Linked DNA regions of Homo sapiens: regions 1, 2, 3, 5, 6 and 7 are each linked to region 4. The links are contacts of gene promoters, found by promoter capture Hi-C in blood cells and fetal thymus (Javierre and others, 2016). All regions are on one chromosome and are shown on one strand. The core of a region is centred on a gene start or on the middle of the fragment in contact, and the rest is flanking DNA. Distances in the headings are between cores, read along the strand shown.

Region 1 (3,548 bases), core at 358-2,857, 3.3 Mb after region 4:
TTGCTCTAAAGCCAGTGGCCATCTGGCAGTAATCTCCCTGTATACAGGATTCTGAGTTCCCAAGAGAGCATCTGGTTGGCTCCCCTTGCCTTCCTGAGTCTGCTACATCATTCCTGGGCTGCTGGCCAGCCTAGGAGTGGGTCCCCTCAGGTCAGACACACCCTGGGCAGGTCAGCAGCCAGCAGTGGGCACAGGGTAACAGAGCCCCCTGCCTACTTAACAGGAGCTGTGGGTGGGGGCAGGAGTTACCAGATACATCTAGCACAAGAACCATATCCTAGAACCCTTCAAACTAACATATGCCAGGTAGGTGTAAGCTTCTGTACTAATTTAAAACTATACATTTCTAAGTTAATGAATTCAGCATCTTGCGGCCATACCAGACATGGCATGGAATTAAACTTTCAGTCCCACTGTTCATTTTATTCATACATTAGGGTGGCAAGGGTGGTCTTGCTCATTGCAAGCAAAGTCATCCTGGTTCATGAAATGAAGAATGTGGACTGTGCAGTTTTCCCAGTCATGAAGACTTTTGATACATCACTTGAAATGTTCCTCCTGAAGTTGAGGGTCCTTTGTAATATCACCAGGGCAGTGAATGGCAGAGACCAGATCATGAATCGCTTCATTTAGAGCCTGCCTCCGGGCTTCCCTGCACTCTGTGGCTGCTAATACCACACCCCTGTGTCCCTTGTGGTCTTAAGTCACAAAACCAGCTATTATTAGATTTGCCTGGAGTGTCTGAAAACAGGCTTAGAATGAGGAAACCTTGTCCCACTTTTATACAACTGGAAAACATTACAGAATTTGACTTTTTGAAAATTTCCCAAAAAAAGGAAAAGAAAAACCCACAAACCCCAGCTTGTACAGTTTAGTCACAGGGAAACACAGAGGTAAAAAAGGTGAACTTGCTTCCACTTCACAGGTGGTTTTGATTTAGAAAACGTGCCTCAAAATTCAGTGCCTACAAATACAAGAAAAGGGGTTTGGTTGTGCTTCTAATAGTATAAGTAAAATTACTCTTGAATGTTTCAGGGCTCATCAAAATTTACATTTATTCTCTTTTTTCTACTTTTATCTACCTGAGTATTCTCATTATCTCTCCAGCTGTGAGAAACTCTCATCTTCCCATGATCCCAAATTAGGTGGGATCCAGTTCTGACAACATGAGTTAATCATCACTAGAAACATTGGCAAGAGCTGGGGAATGTTTGTATTCCTCTGGGACAGCTTAGCATCTCTGGGTAAATGTTGCAGTCCAACTGACTGCCTTCCCCGGGCTGTCCTTCCCCAAACTTCCTCTCCTAGAGGTAGGAAGAGCCAAAATCAACTGTTAGGTCTGTGGTAATTTACAAAGCAAGGATGATATTTCAAAACAGTTGGCTATATAATGTATTTCCTCTTGCAAAATTATACAGTTGGTATTCAGTAATATGTTGCCATATAATGTATTTCTTCTTAAAAAATTATACAATGGCTATATGACTGTTTATGTCCACAAAGTCCAGCCAGATTACTTTTCAAAGAAATTTTAGCAGTTTGATTGCCAAATTCCTGTGATCTCCATATTAAGAACTCTCTGTCTGTGGCCTCTAGTCTTAGAAGTTCTAGTCCATGATACAGGTTGTTATGCAAATGAAAGAAAAAGAGAAATGTCTTGTGCTTGTTTTCTTCTTTAGAATAAGAAGATCTACTTGGACATTATTCACACATACATGGAAGTGCATGCAACTGTTTATGGCTCCAGCACAAAGAATATTCCCAGTTACGTGAAAAACCATGGTATCCTCAGTGGACGGGACCTGCAGTTCCTTCTTCGAGAAACCAAGGTAAAAATTCACCACGGATGTGGTGTTCAGGTTATTGCCATTGGCTGTGAAAATGGGATCAGAATATTTCATGCTTGTTTTTCAATGCTGCAATAAACTCTTGTGGCTATTTTGGGGCAGCAGTTTGCTAGACCAATGGCAGCTGAAAAGTAAGTGAATTGTGGAATGAGATTGCTACAGTTTTTTTCATTGATTTATTCAAAAATCGTATTTACTAAGGACCTACTCAGTGTTAGGTGTCAAGCAAGGGGCTAAGGATAAGGCTGCAAATGGAAAAGGTAAAGCCCTGCCTGGAAGGACAGACTTTCTAATAGAGCAGCAGCTTTCATAGTAAGCCAGGGGTGCTGAACTCTTCCCCCAACCCAATCATCACTGTTCAAGGAGTGGGTTTCCCAACCAGCTTTTCCTCATACCTCCTTGTTCACCAAGTACGCATTGGACAGTGAAGAAGTTCAGATGAGGGCAAAGTCCCTGTGGGCTCAGGAAGCAGAGCAAGCATCAGGAGAGATGCAAGAGATGAAAGATGGATGGAGTGTAGACACACCTGGCATGTGGGCCAGACAGGAGTTAGAGTCAGGTGGTGGAGGTGGAGGTGGCATATTCAGGAAAGAGCTAGAAGCCAACCCAGCTAGTCTAAGTGTTGAAAAATAGTGGAGGTAAAATTGGATGAGGGAATGTGAGGGTCTGATTGGCACAGATGGAGGCAGAGTTCACACCATGTGGTGGAGGTAGCCGGGCAAGCCCTTGAGGATCATTTTGCTCAGCAGTAGCATGATGACGTGTTGCTTTGACACTGTAGGGAAGTCCACCCAGTGGTCTGTGTTTTTTCTGTAATGGTGCCATGGAAGTACCAAATGAAGTTCGGGAACTTGTGAAGAAACCAGAGTTTGGCCTTGAAGGGTTGGCTGGCATTTCAGTGTATTAGATAAACTCCCTCAGGTTTATTAATAAGTTTTTATGAATTTCACAAATATTTATTGAGTAGCTGCAATGTGCTAGGCGTTGTACAAGGGATGCAAGTGTGAAGAAGGCACATGGATCTCTCTTGTGGTATGTCCTAAGCACAAGGAAGCTTATTTTCAGTAGTGGATTTCTCAGCTCTCATCTCTGGCTCGCTTTGTTTTCATGTTCAAGGTAGGGGAGAGAGGTTGAGCAGGTGGACTTCTAGGGCATAATCTCAGTTGTCCAATCATTATGTGATACTTCATTTATAAAAAGTGTATTCACATATGCTATCCTCTTTGATTCTCACAACAGCATTAAGAGGTAGATAGAGCAGGTATTATTGTTAACTTTATTTTGAACATGAGGAAATAGGCTACAGAGTTTGGCTTGCCCACAGTAAACTGGGGTCAAGTCCTGGAGGTGGCCCTAACTCATGATTTTTTTAATTGCACATTAAAGCTCTGCTAGCCCCTTGATGTACTATCGTCATAAACACTCAAACTTAAGAACTCTTAGTGGACACCCACTAGCCAAAAGAATGTATATCTCCTCTTTGCCTCAGTTTCTCCATCTGTAAATGCATTTGATCCTATCTACGTCCAAGGCATTTGTATGATGCCACAAATAAAATGATTTGACAATTTCTTTAGCTTATTGGCCAAAGACCTGGTTTGTTTTAAGATTTTATTTCCTTCCAAGGTCATCTGTAGTCTGATGACTGTTTTTTGTTATCCAGGAGTGAAGTGTGTTCTCTAGTTTTCACTATTTGCTTTC
Region 2 (3,505 bases), core at 1,002-3,501, 3.3 Mb before region 4:
ATGGTGGCTCACACCTGTAATCCTAGCACTTTGGGAGGCCATGGTGGGAGGATCACTTTGAGGCGAAGACCAGCCTGAGCAACACAGTGAGACTCTGTCTCTAAAAAACAAACAAACAAACAAAAAACACACAACAAAAAAAAAAAAAACAGTACAATCACTATGAAAAACAGTATAGAGGTTCTTCAAAAATGTTAAAAACAGAATTACATTATGAGCCAGGTGCAGTGGTTCATGCCTATCTCAGGACTTTGTGGAGCGGAGGCATGTGCATCACTTGAGGTTAGGAGTTCAAGACCAGCCTAGCCAACATGGTGAAATCCCATCTCTACTAAAAATACAAAAAATTAGCTGGGCGTGGTGGTGCACACCTGTAGTGCCAGCTACTCGGGAGACTGAGGCAGGATAATTGTTTGAACCCAGGAGACGGATGCTGCAGTGAGCCGAGATCGTGCCACTGCACTCCTGCCTGGGTGATACAGTGAGACTCCATCTCAAAAAAAATGGTTAAGGCCAGGCACAGTGGCTCCTGCTTGTAATCCCAGCACTTTGGGAGGCTGAGGCAGGCAGATCACTTGAGGTCAGGAATTCCAGACCACCCTGGCCAACATGGTAAAACCCCGTCTCTACTAAAAATACAAAAATTAGCCAGGTGTGGTGGCATGCACCTGTAGTCCCAGCTACTCAGGAGGCTGAGGCAGGAGAATCACTTGAACCCAGGAGTGAGCTGAGATCACGCCACTGCACTCCAGCCTGGAGGAGAGAGCAAGACTCCGACTCAAAAAAAAAAAATTAAGACAGTAAAATTTTGCTATGCATTTATCACAATTTATAAAAAAAAAAATCAAGTGTCACAAGCATATACAGCATGCCAACTTTCTTCTAAGAATGTGAAAATAAGAATATACACAGTAAAAACTGGAATGAACTCCAGAGCTCAGAGACAGAAGCAAGACTTAACTACTTTTTCTTCAGCCTCCGTCTCCTGGGTGCAAGCAATTCTCCTGCCTCATCCTTCAGAGTAGCTGGGATTACAGGCATGTGCCACCACGCCTGGCTAATTTTTGTATTTTTAGTAGAGATGGGGTTTCACCATGTTGGCCAGGCTGGTCTCAAACTCCTGACCCCAGGTGATCTGCCCCCCTCGGCCTCCCAAAGTGCTGGGATTACAGATGTGAGCCACCACGCCCAGCCAGTACTTTTTCAATATAGTATTTAATTTTATTCCTTCTTGGTCACAGGTGCTTAAAAATTTTTTTTCAGTAGATTTTAAACCATGTAAATAACGTATTAAAAAAACTAAATTACGTCTGGGTGCAGTGGCTCATGCCTTGTAATCCTAGTATTTTGGGAGGCTGAGGAGGGAGGAACCGATGACCCCAGGAGTTCGAGCCCAGACTGGGCAACATGGCAAAACCCAGACTATACCAAAAAACACAAAAAATTAGCCAGGCATGGTGGTGCGCACTTGTCGTTCCAGCTACTTGGGAGGCTGAGGTGGGAGGATCACCCAAACCTGCGAGGTTGAGGCTACAGGGAGCCAAAACTGCACCACTACACTCCAGCCTAGGTAACAGATTGAGATCTTGTCTCAAAAACAAACAAACAAAAAAACTAAATTAAGAGGGAGAAAAAGCAAACCCTAATAATGAATACAAACAAAAACTGTGAAATTTGATAATCAAAATAAACAAATTCAACAAACAAGCTGAAAAATGTTATTTCAAGTAACTTTTGAAGAAAGTTCATCTTTAATGCAGTATACGCTAAGAAAAAAAAGGACTGGAAAAAAAACTGCACTTGGTAGGGTTATTGTTAGTAAAATACTGGCATTATAAATCTGACTCTGTTTTCTGTGTAGAAAATGCCACTAATGTTAACTTTGATTAGGAATTTAAAATACCAATGTAGGCCAGGCACAGTGGCTCACGTCTGTAATCCCAACACTTTGAGAGGCCAAAGTGAGCGGATCACTTAAGGCCAGGGGTTCGAGACCAGCCTGGCCAATATGGTAAAACCCCATCTCTACTAAAAATACAAAAATTAGCCAGACGCCTGTAATCCTAGCTGCTCGGGAGGCTGAGGCACAAGAATCGCTTCAACCCAGGAGGCAGAGGTTGCAATGAGCCAAGATTGCACAACTGCACTCCAGCCTAGGTGACAGAGGGAGACTGTCTCAAAAAATAAATAAAATAAAATACCAATGTAAGCTGATGATTTTTAATATCATGTTTTCTAGCTCTGTCCACTGAAAAGGGCATACAAGCAAATGCATACACCACCAAGCATCCAAATCCTGGTTTATAAATAATATTTTCTACCAAAAGAACTGGGACTCCTTGGAGAAATGGGAAGATACAAAAGGAAAGGAAAAGACAAGAAGGACTTGGGTTATTGTTTTGCCAAAAAAGCAAAGGAGCCCTCAAATTAACTGGGGTTAGTGCCAGGTGCTTGGGAGACTGAGGTAGGAGAATCACTTGAGCCCAGGAGTTCCAGGCTGCAGGCAGCTATGATCTTGCCACTGCACTCTAGCCTGGGCAACGAAGTGAGACCCAGTCTCAAAAAAAAAAAAAAAAAAAAAGACCAAAAGCAATAAGGGCCAAATACCTGCTCCTGCTTAAAGACTAAAGAGATACGAAATATCTAGATTGGGACCGGGTGCGGTGGCTCACACCCGTAATCCCAGCACTTTGGGAGGCCGAGGAGGGTGGATCACAAGGTCAGGAGATCGAGACCATCCTGGCTAACACGGTGAAACCCTGTCTCTACTAAAAATACAAAAAATTAGCCAGGCATGGTGGCGGGCGCCTGTAGTCCCAGCTACTCGGGAGGTTGAGGCAGGAGAATGGCGTGAACCCGGGAGGCGGAGCTTGCAGTGAGCCAAGATCATCCCAGCCTGGGAGACAGAGCGAGACTCTGTCTCAAAAAATAAATAAAAAAAGAAAAGAAATATCTAGATTGGATACTGGATTAGAGAAAGAAAAATTCTGTGAGATGTTACTGAGACAACTAGAGAAATTTGAGTATGAATTTTCAATACTATATAAATGTTCAATGTCCAGAATTAGTTAATATTGCGGGTACTTAACTTGTTCTTGAGCAGAGAAGTGCGGAGAAGTGCATATCTGTGAATAACACTAAATGGCTCCGAAAATAATACATGAGGGGCTGGGAGGCAGGAAGGGAGGAATAAAGCAAATGTGACAAAATGTTAAAAATGGGTGAATCAGAATAAAAAGTACATAGGAGTTCTTTGAACTATTCTTCCAACTCTTCTGTTAGTTCATATTTATTTCAAAATTTAAACATTTAAACACGAAAGGGGGAAAGCAAAAGCTCTTTATTACAGAAAACAGTTAATGAATATAAACAAATAACAAAATTAGAAAACCCCCAATAAATGACTCAGCTAATAATCATCAATCATTAAGTGAAAAATATTTTGAGAAGTGAGGTACTCACATGATGCTAAAGTTATCACCCCACAGATCAAGTATAACTGCAA
Region 3 (3,676 bases), core at 252-2,751, 3.2 Mb before region 4:
TGGACATGTCATATAATTATCTTTTTAGGCATTGATCTACAAATAGTATTTCAGGTGTAAATTCTTCAACCTTTTAAATTTCAAATTAAATATTTACACACCCATCTGCAATGCCATTATTTCTAAACAACTTGTCACTTTACGTTGAATGATATAAACATTTTACAAGGATTATTTATGTTCTTCATATATGCTGATCCATAACAAAATACACATCAAGGGCATTTCCGATTGAGATCAAAGCTCTCTGTGGCCGAAGAATAATAGCTTGTACATTCTCATGCCTTGCTTGAAATAGGGGCTTCTCTCTTTCCCTCTCCTCCCCTCTCCTCTTCTCTCTCTCTCTCTCTTTTTCTTTAAGAGACAGGTCTCATTCTGTCACCCACCCTGGAGTGCAGTGGCACAATCATAGCTTACCACAGCCTCCAACTCCTGGACTCAAGTGATCCTCCCGCCTCAGCTTCCCAAAGTGCTAGGACTGCAGGTACACACCACTATGCCCAGCTATCTTTTTTTTTTTGGAGATATGGGGGTCTCACTATGTTGTCCAGGCTGGTCTCAAATTCCTGGCCACAAGGGAGGGATCCGCTCCCCGCCCCGCCCCCCCACCCGCTGGCTGGACACAGTGGCTCATATCTGTAATCCCAGCATGTTGGGAGGCCGAGGCAGGAGGATTCCTTGAGCCGAGGAGTTTGAGACCAGTATAGGCAACACAGGGAGACCCAGTCTCTACAAAAAATAAAAAAAATTAGCTGAGCATGGTGGCACATGTCTGTGGTCCCAGCTACTTGGGAGGCTAAGGAGCGAGGATTGCCTGAGCCCAGGGGGTTGAGGCTGCAGTGAGCTATGACCATGCCACTGCACTCCAGCCTGGGCAACAGAGCAAGGCCCTGTCTCAAAAAAAAAAAAAAAAAAAGGTGGTAGGGGGGCGGTGCGGTGTGCGGTGGGGATCCTCTCACTACAGCCTCCCCAGTAGCTGTCATTATAGGTGTGAGCCACACCTGGCTTCTTTTTGAGAAAGTCTTACATACTCAATATAATAAAACCTCCAATGACTACACTGTTTCTGACCATGGATGTCACTGTCTTATTTGGACTGTTGAGAGGGGAAGCAGAGTGCCTTGGTTTTTTAAAATGCTGCCTCCAAAGCCAGGTGGCCTGGGCTCAAATCCTGGTTCCTCCACGATTAACCTCTTTCTGCCTCAGTTTACTCAAAACAGGAATAATAATAGTATTTGCTTCCTAGGGTTAGGTGAATTAAATGAGTTTAACATATGTAAAGAGGCCAGGCGCCCTGGCTCACGCCTATGAACCCAGTACTTTGGGAGGCCGAGGTGGGCGGATCACCTGAGGTCAGGAGCTTGAGACCAGCCTGACCAACATGGAGAAACCTCATCTCTACTAAAAATACAAAATTAGCTGGGCATGGTGGTGCATGCCTGTAATCCTAGCTACCCGGGAGGCTGAGACAGGAGAATCACTTGAACTCTGGAGGTGGAAGTTGCAGTAAGCTGAGATCGCACCACTGCACTCCAGCCTGGGCAATAAGAGCGAAACTCTGTCTCCAAATATATATATATATACATATATATATATATATATATGTACATAAAGGGCTTAAAACAGTGACTAGTATGTGTTAAGCATCAATACTTTTAGCTGCTCTTATCATCTGGGTTCTTGTTCCACTGTTCTCTAGGAGGGCAACTCCTGGGGGGCCAGTACTTGGCTGTGCACTCTGGGCTTACAGCAGAGCTTGCACAGAGCACACACTCTTCAAAAAGGGCTTCACTGAATCCTCTAAAGCACTCAACAAGGCAGATGATGCTACCATCATTTTACATTTTACAGCATCCACACTGCCACTAAGTGGCAGCGCTAGAATTTTTTTTTTTTTTTTTGAGACAAAGTCTCACTCTGTCACCCAGGCTGCAGTGCAGTGGCATGCTCTTGGCTCACTGCAACCTCTGCCTCCCAGGTTCAAGCAATTCTCCTTACTTGGCCTCCTGAGTGGCTGGGACTACCAGCACGTGCCATCATGTCTGGCTAATTTTTGTATTTTTAGTAGAGATGGTGTTTCACCATGTTGGCCAGGCTGGTCTTGAACTCCTGACTTCAGGTGATCTGCCCACCTCAGCCTCCCAAAATGCTGGGATTACAGGCATGAGCCACCGCACCTGGGCCAGAACTAGGATTTAGATCACAATCTATGTATCAGGCTGTATGGCCTGGAACTACAAGAAAGAATGAGTTCTGCCAATAATATCCACTGGATTCAGTCTTTCTTTAGGGCAGGATTAAAAAATAAATAAATAAATTCTGGGCTGGGAGTGGTGACTCACACCTATAATCCCAACACTTTGGGAGGTCGATCGAGGTGGGAGGATGGCTTGAGCCCAGGAGTTGGAGACCAGCCTGGGCAACAAAGTGAGACATCTGTCTCTACATAAAATAAATTAGCTGGGCATGGTGGCACGCACCTATGGTCCCAGCTACACAGGAGGCTGAAGCAAGAGGATCCCCTTGAGCCCAGGAGGTTGAGGCTGCAGTGAGCCATGTTTGTACCACTGCACTCCAGCCTGGGTGACAGAGTAAGACCCTGTCTCAAAATAAATAAATAAATAAATAAAAATTTAATTTCTAGGGTATGTTAAGAACTAATCTAACAGCTTATAGAATCTTGCCAACAAAAATGGAGCCAGGAAAACAATATGAAAAACCAAGCCCAAAGTCAACATCTCAGCCATCACCTGGAAAATTATCCCCTCATCCAGGGTCATTTGAATCCACGATGGGTGTCACCAGCCTGAGTTCTCACTTGACTCTACTTTGTGTGCAACTGTGGGCAGCGAGCTAGAGATACAGGTCAGATGAAGCAGCAGGACCGCATTCCCAGAGAGCTGGTGTTTTAATAGGGCTCTGAGGCTCTGCACCTCTAGAGCCTCAGAATTCAAAGAATCGAAGGGAAAGAATAAAATGCAAAAGCTAAAAAAACCTTTCATCATTCTCATTACACCAAACCACACCTGAAGGAAAAGCTAAATGTCGTGAGATAGAGGCAACAACTCAGACATTCTCTTCCAGGTGGTATCAGCCACCTGACTGGTGAAACACTCCATCACAGAGCAACAGAAGGGATTTTCAAACCACACCAATGCAGATGAACTCAAGTCCAGAAGATTCTGCCTACATGCCACATACAATCACTGATCCGCAGTGGGTCATAATCACAGTTGATTTTACACAGTTGTGTTTACAGTTCCCCAACATCTTCCAACTATGATTTGCAATGAACAGAACCAACCACAATCTTTGGCCCTTTAGATCCAAGCATTTCTCTGGAGGCCACTAAATAACCAATTCAACTGATAGTCTCAGTTGAGTTTTAGTGACCAAAAGCAGAGTTAGATATTTTCTGCATCAAAAATATATTAGAAGGCATTTCTTTAAAAGCTTATTCCATAAATTCAAATCTATGGGAAATTTCAAACATGACCAAAGTGGAGAAAATAGTATACTCCACAAATAGTATAATGAGCCCAATATTTAAAAATTTCCAACCTATGGCCAATCTTACTTCATCTATACCTCTGTGCATTACCTACTCTCTCCACCTCCCATCCCTCTATGGAATTATTTAAGGCAGTTTTTTGAGGGGTCCAATATTTTACTTATC
Region 4 (3,579 bases), core at 56-2,555:
AAAAAGTGCTCAATTGATCCAGGAAAAGAAACTGTCTAAGACAACTTGGGTATAATTTCCCTTTAAACTACGGAACTCCACCAAAGTAAGCCTGCTTTGTAAAGACAAAGAGAAGCAAGATCTTCACAATTTCTGCAACACTAGCTTCAAAATTAGAATAGCCTTACACTGCTCAAATCTTGGCTGTCAAAGCAAAAATAACCCACTCCTTCATCTACAAGAGCTTAAAAATGTGTCCTGTTTTTGCCAAAACCAAAAAGTTTTATTTAATCTAGAATCTTTCATCCATAGTATTTGAGAAAAGTGATCTCAAATTACACAAGGATGACCTGAAAGTTTAAGGAGTGGAAACTATATAAACCTTTTTATTTATAAAGCTTCCTTGCATGCGAAAACACTGCAAAATATTCTTGTTTGACTTTAATGATTAAACATTAACTCAAACAGCCCATGAGATGCACACTTCATGTTCACATACACTATAAAACAGAAATACCCTTATTTGTGGACGTCGTAAAGGCGCACTGCACTCTTTTTTCAAAGTTAACCCAGGCTAGGCCACGAAACGTCCTTTCTGAAGGAAATCTTAAAAATCTGTAATTTAAATCGTGCCTTTTCAAGCTGGAAGGAGAACGCTCAGATTCCGCCAAGCAAAAAAATAAAAATAAAAATTATCTTTACTTCGTGGGTAGACAAAGTGAGCAGTTACACATTGGAAATGACTATTGTCACAAAGCTCTGCCCCCGGGTTTCACGCTCGCATTCCTGACGGCTGTGACCCCGACCTTTAGGAGAACGCCCCGCGCCGCGAAGCCACCTCGGCCACCTAGGCGGCAGGCCCGCGCCGCCCGGACCGCACCTGCACGCGTACGTGTCCGGCCGAGCTCCGCCCCCGGCCCCCGCCCGGCCTTGCCCGCGGCACAAAGCGCAGCCCAGGCCGGTCCAGACGCCCAGCGACCCCGAGCCGCGGGCCGACCTTGGCGCCGCCCCGAGCCGGCCGCACAAAGCGCCGCACTTCCGGCCTGGACGCGCAGTCGCCCGCTGCCCGCCCCCACTCACCGCGCCGCGGCGGCGACCTGGGCCTCAGTGACCAGCGCACGCCGGCCCGCGGCGGGCTTGGCCGTGGGGCGAAACAAGGGGGGCGTGCCGAGGAGACCTGCTACGATAAGAGGCTGACCCTCCGAGCCCCGCGTCTCCGCCGCCTCCCGGACGCCGCGCTCCCGCTCGCTCGGCTCCGCTTGGCCCGGCCCGCCTCTCCGCAGCCCGCGCTCCCCGCCGACGCTGCGCAGCCACCGGAGCCGCCGACCTCACTTCCGCCTGAGCGCGCCGCGACGGGGGCGCGCCGGGCACGTGACTGCGCAGCGTGCTCGCTCCCGCCGGCGCCCTCGAGACGCCCGGATGGACGAGCGCGAGCGCGAGCGCGGAGTGGGCCGGTCCCAGTTGGCGAAAGGGCCGGGTGTAGCTGTAGTTTTTTTATTAACTGTCTGTGAAAAAAGTATTTAATTTATATTTTGAGATAGTCCCGCGCCGCAGAAACCTTTGTGTGTGCCCAGACGCCAGGGCGCGGATCCTCAGGCCGCACCCGGGAGTCGAGCACACCCCGGGTGACCGCCACTACGGGGTCGGAGCGGGGCGGAGCTCAGCTCACAGATTCTTTGCCAGTGCGGAGGCTGCGGGCGCCCGCTCAGGAGTGCAGATTTTAGAGAATGCAAGTCAGCGTTTCAAGTGTAGAAGTGCGGGATCATTTCTATAGACAAGAGTTCAGGGAAGTGTACTAGAATGTTAGGGGGTTTTTTGGTTTTTTTTTGAGACGGAGTTTCGCTCTTGTCACCCAGGCTGGAGTACAATGGCGCGATCTTGGCTCACTGCAACCTCCGCTTCCCGGGTTCAAGCGATTCTCCTGCCTCAGCCTCCTGAGTAATTGAGATTCCAGGCGCCCGCCACCACACCTGGCTAATTTTTGTGTTAGTAGAGACGGGGGTTTCACCATGTTGGTCAGGCTAGTCTCGAACCCGTGACCTCAGGTGATCCACCCACGTTGGCCTCCCAAAGTGCTGGGATTACAAGTGTGAGCCACCGCACCCGGCCAAATGTTAGTATTTTTATGTAAGGCTTAGTGTATAGTTACAATGATTTGGTTAGTTCAGGGTGTCTCTCTGGGGGAGGTATGTTTATTATTTCGTATTAAAGAGGTGCGTGTCTTGGTGTTTGTGTTTGGGGTGTCGTCTGGTCTGAGCTAGGTACAGGACGACAAAGGAGGGAGTTATTGCAATAAAGATTAGTGATGGAAGGGAGGAGGCCTGGCTCTGGTCTTTTTTCAGTCGTTTATGAAATAAAAACAGATGGGCGCGGTGTCTCACGCCTTTAATCCCGGCACTTATAGGAGGCCGAGGCGGGCAGATCACGAGGTCAGGAGTTCAAGACCAGCCTGGCCAACATAGTGAAACCGCGTCTCTACTAAAAATACAAAAATTAGCTGCGCGTGGTGGCGCACATCTGTAACCTTAGCTGCTCTGGAGGCTGAGGCAGGAGAATCTCTTGAACCCGGGAGGCGGAGGTTGCAGTGAGCCGAGATCGGGCCACTGCACTCCAGCCTGGGCGACAGAGGAAGACTCCGTCTCAAAAAAAAAAATAAAAATAAAATATAAATGTGATAAAAGGACAAGAAGAAAACATGGGGAAATTCCTTTTTAGTATTGGAGTAAAGAAGGCTTTTCTACATTATTACTTGAAATCCAGAAGTCATGACTATGAAAAGCTTTGGTCGGCAAAAAGCACCATAAGCAAAGTCAAAAGATAAATGATTAACAAGGAAGAAATAGTCCCAACACATGTAATAGACAAAGCTAATCTCTTTAATATTCCAAAAGCTTCCAGAAGTCAACAATAAAAAGCCCTACCACCCAATAGAAAAAGGAGAGTTCACAGCAAAGGACTAAGTCTGGCTGTTAGTCATATGAAAAATATCCAATCTCACTTCTATAAAGAAAAATGCAAGTTAAAACTCTTTGAGGTAGCAGTTTTCACTGTGATTGGCAAACATCCAAAAAATTGACAATGCTATTGGTAAGGCTGCCAGGAAGCTCGCACTCTCAGACATTGCTGGATGGGAAAGGGGATCGTCTGATGATGTGTGTCAAAATAAACGCACAAACAATGTTTCATTCAACAGCTGCACTTCTGGGAGTTTGCCTACAGAGATACTTATAGATGTGTGAAATAAAATGAGTTCACACCTATTAATTGCAGCATTGTGCATAGTAGCAAAATACTGGAAACAAACCCTAGTGTCCACACCTAGGGAAATGACTGAGTAAACTCTGGTTCATCATGCAGTGAAATAGCCTATAACTTGAAAAAGAAATGGGGAAACTTTGTATGTACTGAAATGAAAATATCTCCAAGGTAGACTATTCAATGAAAAAAAACCAAGGTATGGAACTCTGTGTAAGAATAGTATGTAAAGCCGGGCACGGTGGCTCACGCCTGTAATCCCAGCACTTTAGGAGGCCGAGGCGGGTGGATCACCTGAGGTCAGGAGTTCGAGACCAGCCTCAACATGGGAAAACCCCGTCTCTA
Region 5 (3,566 bases), core at 820-3,319, 3.2 Mb after region 4:
GTCTGTGTGTGTGTGCGCGCGCGCGTGCGCGTGCATGCATGCAGAGGCATCCCTTTCATAGACACTGTCTTGGCCAAAGTGGATATAGATATGCTGGACAGCCTTCTTCATTTCCCCCAGAAGGTGGGGGGGGGTCCTTTATATCTTGTCAGTCAACTACATATTTTTAAAAAACGATTTGCCATGTCTATAGAGTACCAGAAAGAAGGACAAGGACTTAAGTGAACAGTTCTCATTTATGAGCAGCCCTTCCTTGCTTTTCTGCCCTCTCTCTGATCCATAACCATGCTGATGTCTTCAGACCCCTCTGTCAACCCAAGAATGGCTCCTGAGCTGTGAGAGTTCAGTTTTATGGGGTTCCAATCCTCGCCAAGTAAAGTTTTTCTCTCTCCCTTCCTGAATGGAGACATGCGGTAATTGCTCAGAAATGTTCTCCCTGGTGTGTCTTTACAGCTGACTCTGGTGTCTTATTGCTCACTGATGTTTCTGATTGCTTATTGTTGTGTCTTATTGCTTGCTAATATATCTTCTGGTTGGCTATAAACTGTCTCTAAATTGGGTACCATAGCAATTGAAGAAGGATTCCCTAAATTTATTTTCTTTAGGGGGATAGCTCTGTGTGTGTGTGTGTGTGTGTGTCTGTGTGTCTCCTTATTTTTTCTCTCTAGCTGTGTTCTGTGTAGCTTTTATCCAGTATGGCTTATCTTCACAAATTTATCACCGAGGGTTTTTTAATGTGAAAGTAAATTTGCCCCTAGGGAAATTTAGGTGGAAATGAGCTTTATTAAAATCAAGAAATCAGATTGAACTGGATTTTTGAGCTCTGTTTGTCTTGTTGAAGAGAAAGGGGACTCAAAGGAATGAAAAAGCAGATTTTTAAAATCCCCACCCTTCCACCAATCACACAGTAAATTAATTTCTCCATATTCACTTTCTGAAAGGGCTTGAAGGGCCTTCGTCAAAATTCTCTCCTTTTAGAATGATGCTTTGAATTTTAGAAAGACCCATTCTGTCTTTCTCTAGTTTTGTGATCTTAAGTGAGGAAGTGGAGCGAATAGGATTGGATCTGTGGTTCTTTGTCATGTACCTGAAATGGGGAAAAGGTAAAAAGTATACATATCTGATCATGAAAATGCTTGCCTTCTAAGGACTGAATGTCTGATATATCTTTGTTCTGCCCATAGTGTCTTGATTGTAGCCTTACCTGTTGAAGATAATTCAGTAAATATTGCTCACATGGATTGGTTTCTATTGGAGGGAACAGCATTTGGTTTCACCACCTGGAAGAGTTTCTTCTTATAGTTCTTCTTCTCAATTTACATTTGTGGTGATTTGCCTAGAAGTCGGACTTGGTATTTCGTTTCCCTAGTTCTCAGACCTTAGCAGACACCGCCTAAGAAGTGGGACTGCCTTTTTTGTTGGTCAGGACTGAACTTCCCATCAATGGTTATGGGATGTGGAGGCTTCATAGGATGTGATAGTTACAATCCTAGATGTGATAGTTACAATCCTAGATTGTGATACTTTAGAGGACAAGAACATTGTGTAGCTCTCTACGGGGTAGTGTATGTATGTGCATGTGTACACATTTATTTATACTCTCAATAAAGAGTTGTCATTCAAGGTCAGCTGAATAACTGGCCAGTGCTGACTGTTCCTTAAAAGCCAAAACCATAATGATAGCATCCAAGTGGTGTTGTGATGACTTAATAATTGCAAGGTCACTTGGGAAGCAGAACCACAAAATCAAAGGTACAGGTATAACTCAAGCGACAGTTTCCTGGTATTTAATCCAAGTTGAACTTACAGCAACCCTGCATTTTTTCCAAAGTGGGGAGCGATATGCAACACTTTCTAGTATTTGGGGTTGAAGTGCAATGTATTTGAATTTGGAAGCTGTTCTTAAAAACAGCAACCATTATTATTATTCTTACCATTTGAAAGTTGAAAATGAAAAATGTCCCTGCTGAGTTCCAGGGCTTGCATTTGGAAGTGCAATTTCCCCCTCTTTGTGCTGCTAATGGACCTTGAAATTTAGTTGTACCTGTGCTCTTTCCTTGTATGTGTACCCATGTCATCAGTTTGTGTTGAAGTAGCACCTGAAGTGTCCCAGCTCCACCCCTGGGCAGTGGCTCAGCAGATGACTTTCCCAGGGTCAGATACTGGTATGTCAGTGAGATCCCAGATGCTACTGAGAGACGGGAGAGAGATGAGATTGCAGGTGGCTTCCTATTAAGTTGAGCAAGAAGCAAATATGTTCTGTCTATCTACCTGTCACTTTCTGTTTTGTTATTTGCAATGGTAACAATAAATATGTGGACCCTTGTCAGAAGCTATTCTTTTGGTATCTTTACAGAAAAATGCTTGTCTTTGTTGGTATGGTTTTCACTTTGTGTGGTCAAGGATATTTTGTTTTTATTTAGAAGAAGAAAGACAGTTCAGAAGTGATGGTGATCTTTGAGGAAGTGAATTTATAGCAGTGATTAACAGCTGTGGGCGATTTTGCCCCCAGGGGACACATGTCAATGTCAGGACACATTTTGGTTTTCACAAATGAAGAGGTGCTATTTCCTTTTTTTTTTTTTTTTTTTTTTTTTGAGACAGTCTCGCTCTGTTGCTCAGGCCAGAATGCAGTGGCACTATCACAGCTCTTTGCAGCCTCGACCTTCCATGTCCCCACCCCCTGCCGCCTCAGCCTTCTGAGTAGCTGGGACTACAGGCAATGTGCCATCATGCCCGGCAAATTCTTTTTTCTTATTTTTTGTAGAGAATGGGGTCTTGCTATGTTGCCCAGGCTGGTTGGGCTCCTAGGCTCAAACGATCCTCCCACCTCAGCCTCCCAAAGTGCTGGGATTACAAGCATGAGCCACTGTGACTGGCCTATTTATTTCTAATAGATGAGGACAAGAGATGCTGCAAAAAGCATCCTACAATATATAAGACACTGCCCATAATAGAAGTATCCAGCCCCAAATGTCAATTGTGGCAGGTTTGTGAAATTCCGATCTATGAGATACTGTTAGAATCTGGTGCCAGCAGATATTTTCACCTATGGTTAGTGCAGAAAGACGCCTGAGACGCTGAAGTTTCCTGATTGCCAGCTGAGACCTAAAGTTCCTTTCCCTTTTCCTAGCAAGGCTGTTCACAAGCCCCCCCACCCCCGCCGCCCGCCAATCTCCACCTCATTTAGCTTTGCCACTGGTCTTGGAGGCCTCCAAGGAAAGAGATTTTAGAAACTCCCAGAAGACTATTTTAGGATCCTGCCCTTAAGGAACTCCTTTCCTGGCCCACAGTGTGCTTTTGGCAATGTACATTTTACTTCTGCTTCTATAGAAGGTAATTATTTCTTCTCGTGAAAGGACCACTAATTCCGGATAACAATGGTACAAAGTAGTCTTAGAGAATGGGTTTAAATTGCAGAATGTTTTAGAAGAAATTCTTTGTTATTTTAAGCAAAGTATATAATTATCAAGATATGAGAGAGTAAATTAAATAAGTTAAAGAAAACAAGACAGGTCCCCAAAGATCTACTTTACATCAGAAAATACCCTTGACAGCATACTTGG
Region 6 (3,672 bases), core at 1,033-3,532, 3.2 Mb after region 4:
TGGCATTTTTCAAAGACATAAATATAGAATTCTGAGCTGACAGTAAGTTTTCTCTCAGCATTTAAGAAATGCTGTGTGTGTGTGTGTGTGTGTGTGTGTGTGTGTGTGTGTGTGTGTGTGTGTGTGTTTTCCAGCCTCCTTCTTCTGACGAGATGTCAGGTGACATTGCCATCTTTGTTCCCTTTTATGTAATGTGTCTTGTTTTTCTCTGTCTGCTTTCAACATTTTCTCTTTCTCATTTGCTTTTAGCAGTTTGATTATAATAAATGTGATTGTCTTTATCTTGTGGTTCACTGAATTGCTGGATCTGAAGTTAATGTTCCTCAACATATTTGGGAAGTTGTCAGCCATTATTTCTTCGAATATTTTTTGTCTCTTTTCTCTTTTCTACCTCTGGGCATCCGTTTACACAAAGGTTCGCCTACATGATGTTCTCCACAGGTCATGGAGACTCTATGTGTTTTATTTGTCTTAGTCTTGAATGTCTCTGTTTTTAGGTTAAGTAATTTCCTTTTTTGTTTTTCAAATTTACTGATCTTTTATTCACTGATGACCGTTTTTCCTTTGTCTTTAATCTTATTTATAATAACCGCTTTAAATTCTTTGTTAGTTCTCCAACAGTTGCGTCATCTTGTTTTTGTTGACTGTTTTTCTTGCCTTGTTCACGTTTTCCTGTTTCTCCACATGTTTAATAATTCTTTATTATGTATTGGACATGACAAGGATATGCTATAGAGTGTCTGGGTTCGGTAAACTTCCTCTGAAGAGTACTGATTTTTTTTCTAGTAGGCAGTTAAATTACTGACTTACTGCCTTGAACTTAAGAAGACTTGCTTTTATGATTTGTTAGGGTGTGTCTGTTTCCATTTTTTTCCCTAGTCTTGGACCATCTGAAGTCCTGGGCCTGATGTGAGGCCCTTCTGGGGTTTCATGGAAAGCCTGAAATGTTGACCCTTTGACTTTTTGGGGTTTAAACTGTGGCTGCCCTGCAGTGAGCAGCAGCTGAAGTCTTGTGAATACTTTGAACTTTTATTGGAGCCTCCCTCACAAATGCTTAGTTTTAGGGTCGCTCAAGAAGTTTAAGGTAGTTTATATACAGACTTTGGGGTTCTCCTCTTTGGGCTCCCTCTTTTTGGGAATATGCTACCTTAATTTTTCACTACTATGCAAAACTTCATTCTATGAAACCTCAAGCCAGTGAGACTGTAGCCTTTTGTTTGCTACCTTCCAGACTTGATAGTCCCCTCTGGGGCACAGCCATATAAATGTGAGTCTTATTCAGTGTAGTTTCCAGAAAGAATTTAAGGATCAAATCCCTTCTAGTTTCTGCTCACTTTCCCTCACTCTTTAGTGTCATATTGTAAGTGTTATCTGTGGGAAGATTGTTCCAATACAAGCTTCTCTGCTATTGCCAATGCATAGTTTCTCTGCTTTGTTTTTAAAGAATCCTAGGTTAACTGTTATGTGGATCTTACACAGGTAGTGTAGTTTAGCAGCGTGCTCTGGGCTGGGAAGCTGTCTGAATTATCTGTTACCACAGTGCTGCCTTCCCCCTGGTTTTGGTATGCATGCTAGCTCTTTTCTGTTAGGTACAATATACAATAACCACCATTTCTAGGTTGGCAAGGACCGTATGTATTTAACAGTTGCTCTCCTATCCGGATGCCATGGCTGGAGGGTAAGCAAGGGACTGCACTTTATTCTGGATACTGGGATGGTGAATGGGTTTTCAGGTAGTAATCCCACCACCTGAGGATCAGTGCCTTCTAAGAGCTAACTCAAAAACCAAATATTCATCTGGGAACAGACTACTTGCTGAAACGAACAAATTCCCAGGCAGTTGAAAACCTTTGTGTTTCCTACTGGGAATAACCTGCATTCACAAATTCATTAGCCTTTTATGTGGAGTTGATGAATAGCATTCCAGGATTATAAGAATACTTGTAACATCCCAGAATATGCACATTAGTCTCTTAACTTTACAAGCAGAGTATTGGTATCCAAATTTACATGGTCTTAACACAAAGCATGTTCTTTTCTACATGAAGGAATACCTGCTAAGGGCCGGGAGAAGTTCTAAGGAATTAAGTTGTAAGATAGCCTGATTTTTTGTTTTTTAACATGTCTTGCTATGTTGCCCAGGCTGGTCTCAACCTACTGGGCACAAGCAGTCTTCCTGCCTCAGCCTTCTCAGTAGGTGGGACTGTAGGCATGCACTACTGCACCTGGCACAATCTGGTTTTTAAGAGGCATCCTAGCCAAGGACATTACCTAGCAGGCTTGGCATGTATATTTTATGCCAATGGCTTGTAGGTTTCATATCACTCTGGATCAGTCACAGTAGACTTACAATTTAAATAGCTTTTAGCCTTTCTTCAAACCGTACCCAAGAATTTGTTGTGCTTGTGGGTGTTTGAAATATTCTGGCTTTCAGCTTCTTTTATACATTCTCTCTGTCCTACTTTCTCTAGGACCAAAACCTTATTATCAAGGTGTCATCTCAATTCTGCATTATCTTGCAATTTATTTTTCTGTTTAAAAAAGTAAGGTAAGAGACCACAACCAAGCAACCAAAACAAAATGAAAACCTCAGTTTATGCGAGACGGTGAAAACAAAAATTTTTCTTGATCTCCTGTTAAGAGAATAGTCGAAGCACTTCCGCCTTGCCTCTAGATGTCTGGCTGGCCAGATAGAATCCCTGTTTCTAACCAACAGCTATAAGACGCTTGTGACAAGTGATTCAGAAAGTGGGCATTGTGTGATATGAAGAGCACACACCTATTTTGGGCAATTTATACTATCTTAAAACAGCCCAAGGATATAGCTAGCCTTCTCTCAGTTATTGATTCCATATTTCTTTTCTTCTTCAGTTGCAAAAAGGAAATACAAATATACACACATAAACTACATGTATGGCTTTGCTTTTCATTTTTAACAAAATCCAAACTCAAGACACCTTTGACAGTTTGATAAGAACAGGCAGAAATCTATGAACTGTGCTTAACATGGAACCCTGTTTTAGAAGAAAAATCAAACCTCTCTTTGAGAGGTTGAAGTGAGATATGGGTGCTCTGTGTTGCAAGGGCATGTCACTGTTACAGTAAGTTATCTGTGTAACACCCTTTCCTTCTTCTAGTAAACTGCATGTGAGAAGAGGGGACTTGGCAAAAGCTTGGCACTATTTTGTTTATTGGAAAAGGAGAATCGTTATAAATATCACCTTAGGCCCCCAACTCGAGAATATAATACAGTTTTGCAAGTATCTTGAATTTTTAATGTCTCCCACCTATTTCTCAGTATATTTTCTTAAATCAAAATTGACAGCTGAGGTTGTCTCAGTATGTTAGCATTATATCTTATTCTTTTAAATGTATGTATAGAAACTTTTTTTTCTGGGAATATATCTGTATAACTTTTTGTTTGTTTTGATGTATAAAACTAGCATTCTCCTAGTTTATTTCCTATTAGGCCCATTTGTTGTAACTAAGTACATATATGATACCCACGTGGAATATTTCATATCCTTTACATCATTACTTAAAATACTAAGGAACATTTTGTTGCAGAAGAAATGATAGCAAAAATTAAATATAAACTTACAGAAAATGGTATTTACATAGAAATGAATACATGCAGAGTTTTGCATTAAAAAGCACTCTAATTATCCAAAC
Region 7 (3,488 bases), core at 989-3,488, 3.3 Mb after region 4:
TTAATAGCCACTCTGAAGTAATGTCTCATATTTAATAAGATTTTCATTACTTTTACAAACTATACTCCAGTAAATTTATTGATTGATATACAATGAAGTATCTTAGATCAGATGGTTCTCAATAAATAGCAAGAAGGAACGTAACATTCAGAGGGGAACTAATGAATCACAAAATGCCTCACTCATAAAGCTAAGTAACCTTCAGTAAATGTAAATGAACAAAAGGATAATAGCTCAGCATTTTGTATTTTCCAAGTGCTTGGAGCAACCTTGTAAATAAGCAGAGACCTTAAAAGGCAGGAGAGGAGGGAGACTGCTGACATGTAAATTACTAAATAGTGACATTGATGGCAACTTTAACTTACCCTGATTCCGTCAGAAAATCTAATCAGTTCTCCAGGCCACAAAATGAAAATGATGTGACATTTTGCTCATCTTCAGAAAATACAGGCATAAATTCAGTCCTGAATTTAGGTTGGCAAGTTGTAAGAGCTGGATTAAAAAGCTGGTGTTTACATTGGGCCTTTGTCTTAAGAACTTAAAGACATCCTTTAAAATTGTCACCTTCCTTTTTATCCAAAGCTAAGAAGTTGTTGAAGGACCTAGATTTGAAGTTGGCTCTTCTCCTTTCCAGCTGTGGGGTCTTAGGGGAAATGTAATCGCCTCTCAGTCTCAGAATCGTCATTGATGCATAATAAACCTGAGAAATAACGTTTGTGCAGGTGATTAGCAGGAAGCGTAGGGCTTCCTTGGTAAGTGTTGAATTCAGAAGTGTGCAGAGAAAAAAAAATGGAAGTTTTCTGAGTTCCGTGGGCCTGCAGAGAGTCTGTAGCTTTTATCACTGACCATAGAGCTGAGCCGAGGAAGACAGCACCTGTCAGAAGGGCGGGAAACTGAAGAGACTGATGACGGGCTGCTGCTGGATAGAGGCCCAGATAACCTGCAGTCAGCAGAGGCTCACTGCTGGGCCCAGGGACTTGTCGGGCTTCCTGCCTTGAATAGCACATGCATGCTCTTGGTGTGGCAGGATACAAAGAACAGTGGCTAAGGGAAAGACGGAGGGGTGCCAGTTAATTCCTCTAGCCCTGTGAGTATCCTGAGGAAAAGAGGAGAGCCAGCTTGACCTCCAAAGCAAAGGCCTGAGGAGAAGAGAAGAGCCAGCTTGACCTCCAAAGCAAAGGCCTCAGCACTGGCAAACCCAATATTTCCTATTGTTATAAATATGAGATGAAATTTGTAAATTATATAACCTTGCCTACCCGTGTAATTTCAAAAGGGAATAATTCTCTAACAAATATAAAGGAGAAATAAAAGGAAAAGAATTTCTAATAAAGCAATACATATTTCAGTATTATGGAATCAAGAACTGTGCTGTCCCATACCCAACAGCTATACCAGGCACTATGATGCCTTGTTTCTCCTCACAATGAGTGTTTTTATTTAAAAGGAATGAAACATTCAGCTGAATATGGTCAGCCTTTTTACTTAAAATTGACATTATGAAGGAGGAGCGAAGCCTGAGTGTGTTTACGTATGCCCACATATAAATAGAATTGCCAGTAATGTGATAGCTCCAAATATAGACTAATGTGGGTATGTTTTACTGGAGACTCTGACATCCTCAGTGGCACTGACTTTGTTGCTTTGATCTTTCTGAAATGATGACAGCTCATTGGTGACGTTTCAGATAAAACAGAGCAGAGACATTGCTTCATTTACATGGTGATTATGTCTCTGGATAATTCAATGTATGTTTGAACTGTCAAAAAGTTAGATTCTGACTGGGCATGGTGGTTCATGCCTGTAATCCTAGCACTTTGGGGGCTGAGACAGGTGGATCACTTGAGGCCAGGAGTTCGAGACCAACCTGGCCAACATGATGAAACCCCATCTCTACTAAAAATACAAAAACTTAGCCAGGCATGGTGGTGCGCACCTATAGTTCCAGCTACTCAGGAGGCTGAAGCAGGAGAATTGCTTGAACCCAGGAGGCAGAGGTTGCAGTGAGCTGGATCATACTACTGCATTCCAGCTGGGGTGACAAAGCAAAACTCTGTTTCAAAAAAAAAAAATAAAAAACTAGATTCTCTAAGCCCACGTGAAAGCCCTGCAGGCCATTTGAAAGTTTCGTGGGCAGTGGACAATTCTTCCTGTGCAGGACTGTCCTTGGACATTGTGAAGTGCTTATATCCCTGGTTCCCACCCACAGACTAAGGGTAACATTCTCCAGTTATTATGGTAGCTGAAAATGCTCTCACACGTGGCTAGAATGCTCCCTTTACAACATGACCTTAAAGGGATATGAGGACAGAGGTGGAAACAAAATCAGGGGATAAATTTAGCTGTATTAAAGAATGGACTCAACTGAGCACAGTGGCTTGTGCCTGTAATCCCGGCAGTTTGGGAGGCGGACACAGGAGAATCATTTGAGGCCAGGAGTTTGAGACCCACCTGGGCAACATACAGAGACCGTGTGTATACAAAAAAAAAAAAAAATTGTTTTTAATTAGCCAGGCATGATGTGCACATCTGTAGTCCCAACTACTCAGAATGCTGAGGCAAGGTGATCTCTTGAGCCCAGGAGTTTGAGGCTGCAGTGAACTACGACTGGGCAACAGAGCAAGACCCTTTGGGGAAAAAAAAGAAGAATGGACACTTCATGAATTCAGAATTGTCATGGTTTGCACTTGGTTTCTTTGACCACATGTTGTTTTTAAAATAAAACCCCCTTTAGGACAAAAACTGCCATTCCTTGTTTTTCTGAATATTATGCTAATTATTATTCCTGAAACCATCCCAAAAATTCTGTGTATTTCTGATGGTGTCATTTTTTTCTATCACCTTTTGTATGCACCATGACTTAGCCTCCTGGGACTTTAAAAGCCTTGATTTTTCTTGTAATTGTCTATGCTGACCTTTCTGTCTTAGCCAGGAGAATAGATACTGGTTTGATCTAGTAATAGGTGATTTTCGGGGCTGGGTTCTGGGTAGGAGAAACTGTTCATCATTTCTTGATGTGATGTTGGGGGCTAAAGCCTCCTGTAGCAGCTTCCTTGTCACCTGGTTGTGACATTATCTTATTTCCAAGTGGGATTCAAGGTACAGAACCATCACTGTTTTGTTATCTGCTTATGGATGGTTTTGATCATCAAGGGGAAGGACACAGTGTCTTGTTACCTACACGATTATAACTCAGTACCATAAAAAGCATAGCACTCCATCTAGCACAGGTTATTTTAAAAATTGCTTGTGAGACTGAGGTGTTCGGTTCTTTTCCAGCTGACATCCCAGCATCCTTACGCTGAAGTTTTCATCGGGCGGCCACATGTGTGGACTGTTGACCTCAACAATCAGGAGGAAGTAGAGGATGCAGTGAAAGCAATTTTAAATCAGAAGGTTGGTTCATTTTATTCCACTTTCCCTCCTTTCTAATGTGACCTGAAATGTGTATAAAACACATCATAGGTCCTTGTTTTTAGCAAACAGAT

What was found. The method cuts DNA at HindIII sites, captures the fragments that hold promoters and counts their contacts. A CHiCAGO score of 5 or more calls a contact.
Region 1: a fragment that was not itself captured here is called in contact with the fragment with the promoter of FAM168B in region 4 in 1 of 17 cell types (M1 macrophages); the score reaches 5.2 in M1 macrophages.
Region 2: a contact is called between a fragment that was not itself captured here and the fragment with the promoter of FAM168B in region 4, in 1 of 17 cell types (fetal thymus). The highest score is 8.9, in fetal thymus.
Region 3: a contact is called between a fragment that was not itself captured here and the fragment with the promoter of FAM168B in region 4, in 1 of 17 cell types (neutrophils). The highest score is 5.2, in neutrophils.
Region 5: a fragment that was not itself captured here is called in contact with the fragment with the promoter of FAM168B in region 4 in 1 of 17 cell types (M1 macrophages); the score reaches 5.1 in M1 macrophages.
Region 6: a contact is called between a fragment that was not itself captured here and the fragment with the promoter of FAM168B in region 4, in 1 of 17 cell types (M0 macrophages). The highest score is 5.5, in M0 macrophages.
Region 7: a fragment that was not itself captured here is called in contact with the fragment with the promoter of FAM168B in region 4 in 1 of 17 cell types (naive B cells); the score reaches 5.1 in naive B cells.

What each region holds. Positions count from the first base shown.
Region 1 is chr2:134,401,309-134,404,856 of GRCh38, forward strand. MGAT5 (alpha-1,6-mannosylglycoprotein 6-beta-N-acetylglucosaminyltransferase) reads left to right here. Exons shown (of 16, transcript NM_002410.5): 11 at 1,680-1,829. Among named protein-coding and RNA genes, the nearest start is that of MGAT5, 150 kb to the left of the region's middle. The HindIII fragment of the contact is 2,584 bases long and covers 316-2,899 here.
Region 2 is chr2:127,801,388-127,804,892 of GRCh38, forward strand. The region is part of intron 1 of WDR33 (WD repeat domain 33); the gene reads right to left. Among named protein-coding and RNA genes, the nearest start is that of WDR33, 8.0 kb to the right of the region's middle. The HindIII fragment of the contact is 9,275 bases long and covers 1-3,505 here.
Region 3 is chr2:127,875,453-127,879,128 of GRCh38, forward strand. All of the region lies in intron 2 of AMMECR1L (AMMECR1 like), which reads right to left. It also overlaps the pseudogene LOC107985803. Among named protein-coding and RNA genes, the nearest start is that of AMMECR1L, 8.7 kb to the right of the region's middle. The HindIII fragment of the contact is 3,899 bases long and covers 1-3,451 here.
Region 4 is chr2:131,092,155-131,095,733 of GRCh38, forward strand. It overlaps FAM168B (family with sequence similarity 168 member B), which reads right to left and starts at 1,306. Exons shown (of 7, transcript NM_001009993.4): 1 at 1,060-1,306. RefSeq lists a silencer at 760-1,479. The HindIII fragment of the contact is 2,381 bases long and covers 376-2,756 here.
Region 5 is chr2:134,273,007-134,276,572 of GRCh38, forward strand. The region is part of intron 2 of MGAT5 (alpha-1,6-mannosylglycoprotein 6-beta-N-acetylglucosaminyltransferase); the gene reads left to right. Among named protein-coding and RNA genes, the nearest start is that of MGAT5, 21 kb to the left of the region's middle. The HindIII fragment of the contact is 7,130 bases long and covers 1-3,566 here.
Region 6 is chr2:134,302,645-134,306,316 of GRCh38, forward strand. The region is part of intron 2 of MGAT5 (alpha-1,6-mannosylglycoprotein 6-beta-N-acetylglucosaminyltransferase); the gene reads left to right. Among named protein-coding and RNA genes, the nearest start is that of MGAT5, 50 kb to the left of the region's middle. The HindIII fragment of the contact is 1,775 bases long and covers 1,396-3,170 here.
Region 7 is chr2:134,419,524-134,423,011 of GRCh38, forward strand. It overlaps MGAT5 (alpha-1,6-mannosylglycoprotein 6-beta-N-acetylglucosaminyltransferase), which reads left to right. Exons shown (of 16, transcript NM_002410.5): 13 at 3,280-3,396. Among named protein-coding and RNA genes, the nearest start is that of MGAT5, 170 kb to the left of the region's middle. The HindIII fragment of the contact is 5,580 bases long and covers 1-3,488 here.